Regions from separate parts of the Homo sapiens genome. Here region 1 is linked to region 2. The links are contacts of gene promoters, found by promoter capture Hi-C in blood cells and fetal thymus (Javierre and others, 2016). All regions are on one chromosome and are shown on one strand. Each heading gives the region's core, a stretch centred on a gene start or on the middle of the fragment in contact. The rest is flanking DNA. Distances are from core to core; before and after follow the strand shown. Region 1 holds the start of ADAMTS6 (ADAM metallopeptidase with thrombospondin type 1 motif 6). Region 2 holds the start of IPO11 (importin 11).

What was found. The method cuts DNA at HindIII sites, captures the fragments that hold promoters and counts their contacts. A CHiCAGO score of 5 or more calls a contact.
Region 1: the fragment with the promoter of ADAMTS6 here is called in contact with a fragment that was not itself captured in region 2 in 1 of 17 cell types (fetal thymus); the score reaches 7.1 in fetal thymus.

Annotation. Positions count from the first base shown.
Region 1 is chr5:65,480,641-65,483,340 of GRCh38, forward strand. It overlaps ADAMTS6 (ADAM metallopeptidase with thrombospondin type 1 motif 6), which reads right to left and starts at 1,280. Exons shown (of 25, transcript NM_197941.4): 1 at 703-1,280. RefSeq lists enhancers at 1,033-1,392, 1,160-1,659, 1,433-1,482. The HindIII fragment of the contact is 619 bases long and covers 1,089-1,707 here.
Region 2 is chr5:62,412,160-62,414,859 of GRCh38, forward strand. IPO11 (importin 11) reads left to right here and starts at 604. Exons shown (of 30, transcript NM_016338.5): 1 at 604-770. RefSeq lists an enhancer at 525-714 and a silencer at 1,045-1,094. The HindIII fragment of the contact is 2,111 bases long and covers 330-2,440 here.

The sequences.
Region 1 (2,700 bases), core at 30-2,529, 3.1 Mb after region 2:
CAATACCCCATTCCTGCACTCTCACTCTCCCTCCTCAATCCCTGAACTTTGGTCCCATACACCATATATACAGACCTACCCCGATAAACAAGGCTCCGGAGGGTTATGAGTCTAGCACGTCCCAAGTGGCCAAAAGTAAATCAAAAACACACGTTTCCATCTCTTTGATTAGCCTATTAAGAGCTTAACATGTCCTAGAGCATCGGGGCTACAGCTAGCACATTAATGCTACCCTCTGAGCCCAGGCATAAAATATGCACTTGTCTGAAGACTTAACGACACTGACATGAAACTACAAAATGCATAAGACTTTTCTGTAAGAAAACTGGAAATCAATTTAAAACACACACATCATTATTACCTTCCGGATTACTATTTGGTGATCAGTTAAAAGATTACAATAATCATAATCAAGTCCACTTCACAAAACATGTATTGTATATTCATAAAATAAACGTATTTTTTTTGCATCATAAAATAACTGCAAGTCCCAGAATTCTACAACCCCCGACAAGTCTGGAGTTAAAAAGATATCTATTTGTAAAATGAGTTCAGTCAAGCTCACTCATTGCCATTAAAAAAAAAAAAAAAAACACACACACAGAAAAAAAGTTTTCTAAGCGTTATTCGGAAGACAAGCAAAGCACAAGTTGTTGGTTTAAAAAAAAAAAGCTCCATTGAATATTGTTAAGTCTTCCTTACCGTTTTCATCTTCAAATTCTGATAAAAAGTAAGTTTCAGACAATAGAGATTGCACTGGACGACTCACGTACTCCCTCTCCTCTCTAACTTTTTTTAATTTTTTTTATTTTTTTATTTTTTGCCCCCCTTTGCAAAGCCACACCAGCCAGTTATTCTGCAGCCAGAATAAAACCCTATGGTCTGGCTAACCCGGGCTTTAGAGAACTGACTTTCCGATTTGGCAGAATAAGAGATGCCTTCAATACATCTAGGCTATCACTCTGAGATGCTGCCTTTGCAAACCCCCTTTCTCTCCCTCCCCACCCCCCAAAAAAGGAAAGGAAAAGAAAGAAAAGACGGGAAAAAAGACTTATTGGGGGTGGAAGTGGTGCCCTCTCTTCCTGGAAAGCTTAGTGCCTTTGCTATGCAAATAACATGTGCAGAGCATCAAAAGGTATCAGGAGAAAAGAAGACAAGAGGAGCAGGAAGGGCAGCAAAGTTTTGTTGAAGTAGCCCTAGATCTCACTACCGGCCCCCAGCCAACTTGAATTGCAGCAGGAGAAAATTTTGGCAGCTTTTCCTCGGAGGCAGAGCACACTGACGTCAGTCTGCAGATGTGCCTGGGCTGCGTCGGGTGCGCATGTGTCCTGGGTCGTCACGTGGAGGGGGAGGGGAGGTAGAGGTACAATCGGGGTAACCAACTACCAGCCATTCAGAAGGGCTTAGACAATGTCAACTTTTCCACACTGTGAATGAGAGAAATTCTGGCCTCTCTAACCTCTCTGTCCTATCTCATTCCGCCTCTTTTCCTCCTCCTCCTCTAAACTCTCTTAGAAATTCTAGCCTGGTTTGCTATTAGTTGTTTCTTGGAAAAATGAAGGGGGAGGGAGAAGGATGAATGACTTTAGATGGACTAATGTCACTGTTAAGATCTCTGGTGTCATTCTCCGTGTAATTTTATTTTTAAAATCCACACAATCAAAATGTTAAAACTTGCACGCAAACAGTGCCTCTGAGGAAACTTAAAGCTTAGATTCGTGCAGCAGGCACAAGACTCAGTAGCTACAAGTGTACAAAATGCCTGTGTTTTATACATACTTCAGCAAGTAAGGTTAGCACCAAAAGGGAAAGTAAACTAAAGTAAACTAATACCAGCACATTTTCCATTTGATTATCGACTTCAGGTTATGTGGAGCTTTAAAAGAAGAAGAAGAAGAAAAAAAAAAAGTAGGGGAGGAGGGAGCGGGGGAAGGAAGAGAGAAGCTTGCATTATTTCCAGATGAGGGTGAGACTGGATGGTGTTTTAAAGTGCAACCGGGAAAAGCCACAAGTGGAGTGTATTTTTTTAAGTCAGTCCATTGAATGAAACTTCAATGACTGCCCAAATGAAAATAAATCCGAAGTAGGACCCCACCACCAAAAAAAAAAAGGAAGGGAAAAAAACAGGAACCCTGCTGCGATCTCAAGATAAACAAACAAAACCTCAAAACTGGTTCTTCAACCTTCCCAATCCCACCCTCCCTCCCCCCTACACACAAGCTGCCAGTCCAGACTTTAAGGATAAAATACCGCTACAATGTAGCACTTTCACTTTCATTTGCTGAGAATGAAAGCCGCTGGGGAGAAAATGCCCAGTGTTTTCCATGTCCTAAGCAAGCAAACAAAGTCTGGCACATACATCGGAAACAGGAAAAAATGTGAAAATAGCTCAGGACAAATGTTGCCTTTCAACGGTGTAATCTGCTGCATCATTTATCTGTCTCTACCATTGAGTGTAGAATAGGGAGCTGTTTAAGAGTTTCCGAGGTTGGGGGCAGGGGAAAATTGACGCCTTGAAATTCCAGCCCTTAGTTAATGCCAAGTCAATTTCCGATGGTGAGAACCAGAAAGGAGAACTGGACCGGAGGGAAGGGGGTAGGAAGGATGATCTTTCTGAATACCAGCTCTTAAATATCAAGCTTCTGCTAACATTATTGCCCATTTGATTTTTTTTTTTCTTCCTACGCCGGAGGTAGTAGG
Region 2 (2,700 bases), core at 135-2,634:
GATCCTCCTGCCTCCATATCTGGAGTAGCTGGGACTACAGGCGCGCGCCACTGCGCCTGAGTAAGTTCTCTTTTTAAGGATAAGAAAATTTAGGTGACTATGCTAGCTTTTAGCAGAGGCAAGCAGAACTGGATTTATGTCCTTTTACATTTTTCCACTCTTGCTATTACTCAGGAGTAAGCGCCAAGCAATTTGGGTAACTTAAAAAATAAATATTTGCGGGAGGGAGGGTGGACTGATGGGAGTAAGATTCTTTAAATAACTCTTCTCTGCTGTGACGGATCCGCTATTGATATCTAGAATATAAAGCGTGAAATGGTTCTGATTGAAGCTTCAATCAACGCAGGAAACAATTGAGCTCCCTGGGAGTCGGAGAAACCAGACCTATGGTTTCCATGGTGACAGATCCGGCTAGTCCGGACTCCTGGCTCTTTATACTGCGCAAGCGCACTGCGCAAGCGCACACAACTGATTTGGATACCCCGCGCCTTTTGGTTCAAAGACAAAGCCCCTCCTTCCCCTTCCCGCCGTTCGCCTATCGCCTTCTCTCTCTGCCGGTCGCATGCGCGCTGGTCTCCTGTGACGTAGTTTTCGCGCGTCCGCGTCGTTTGGAGCTGCGACGCCAAACATGGCGTGTTCCTAGAAGCCGCTTTCGGCATCAGTAGGCGGCGGCGTGGGGTCTGGCAGCGTGGGGAGAGGGACCAACCGACGCCACTTCGTGTTGGGAAGTGGGAGCGGGAGGGCCGGGCAATTCCCGACCGAACCAAACGGTGAGGCCCCGGCCCGAGAGCCACCGAGCGCGCGGGAGTGGAAGGGAGTGGGTTGGGCACCCGAGTCCCGAGAGGCGGGAGGAAAGTGGGGCTACCAGGAGATGAGGGATAACGGTAGCGAGGCAAGGGCGGCCTGCAGACTTGGCTGTTTGCGCAACCTTAGGAACCCGGGGAACTGGGGGCTGGCCGAGGCAGCCCGGGAGTGGGCAGCATGGTAGTGGAGCAATCAGGGTGCGGGGTGGGAGGGACCGTATGCTAGGCTGAGCAGAGGCGAGTGTACCCATCGTGACCGCGGTTGCGGACCTGGGTGATGCATTTGCCCTTGGGGGATAGGTGGTGCAAATTTTGAGATAAAGTGGTTATCTCGAGTATAAGACCGTTGTGCATTGTTACTGCGCACGCGACCTTGTTGCTAATAGCAATAGTGTGATAGCTTTAAACATTAGACCCTTACATGCTTTTAATGAAAAAGTGAAGGTAGTTGTCCGTTTATAGAGAGGAGCTTCATGGAGAGGTATGGCCGCCAATTCTCAAGCTCAGCGACTCCTGTAGATTTATATTTGGGGGTATTTGTGATTCAGCAAAACTACTTTTGCTTATTACGTGTGTCATTTTTTCTTTATTATTTTGTGACATGTTGGTGAATGAGAGAAGTACTATCTGAAAGTGATTTGACTAAATAGCAAGGACTGGTAAATTACCTACTAGTGCCAAGGTTGCAGTTGACATACCTCCTCCCCTCCATAATTTAAACGAGCTCAGTTGTAGCGCGGTAGTGCCCTTCAGATTTCGGTTATTCTTCAGAAGGAAGAATAGTTTGTAGCCATAATGCTTTTCCCCCTCCTGGGATAGGAATTTTCTTCCTCCATTTTCATGTTATTTCAAACTTCTCTGTTCAGTAGAGGAGCTTCAGATTAAGGGCAGGGTGACTCTTCTATAGGAGACATCCATTGCATGACACATATTACATCTTTCATCACTGAGGAAAATTTCGGTGAAAGTAGAAACATTTTCCCTTTTGGTTATGATGGGACTGGTATTTTCTCTGTTTCTGCAGTAACCTAGCACAGGGTATAGTAGAAACAATTAATTATAGTAGTGGCTTGTGGCCATATATTATAGTCTCAGGGTAGGAGGGTGGTCTCCGCCCTAGTTGAACTTCTAAGGCCAAAGAGAATTTTCACCACAAACACATTTGGCTGTGGTAATGTTAGAGGTTTTAAACAAATATGTAAAGATTATCTGATCATTAATAGAACAATTTTTAGATTTTGTGATGTTTGAATATATTTGCATTTGGAATCAAACCAGAATGCAGCATGATCCTTGTAGGCATGTGGCTATTAAAATACACTGAAGATTTTTCCAGAAACAAAATTTTTTTTTCTCAGCAATAAAAATATTCAAATTTTGGGTAAGGTAATGTTTGATTATTTGGATTTTGACCTTTGTGTTATATATTTGTACCTGTGTGTGTGTATGTATGTAACCTCACTTCTAATTTAGTGTTATTGATGGTAATATTTTTTCCTTTCTTTATCAGCTTCAAATAGGGACTGTTAATTTCAGAGCGTTTAAGGAATGGCAAAACACATTTAGTGCTGGTGTGAGTCTGTAGTGTGTTTGGTTTGCTGACTATCAGACTTATTACAGATAAGTCCACAGTTATAAGCTTTGTAGAGCTTAAGTTGCATCAGTGTTCTTTACCCTTGCTACTCAAATTGTGGTATATAGCATCACCTGGGAGTTTATTAGAAATGCATGATCTCAGGCTCAATCCAGAGCTGCTGAATCAAAATCTGCAATTTTAACAAGTTATCTAGATGAAAGGAATGTTCAATAAATCTTGAGATGCACTACTTTGGTTGGTAACAGTTGAAGAACACTGAGGTAATGCACAAACCGGTATAAAAATTTATAGCATCATTTA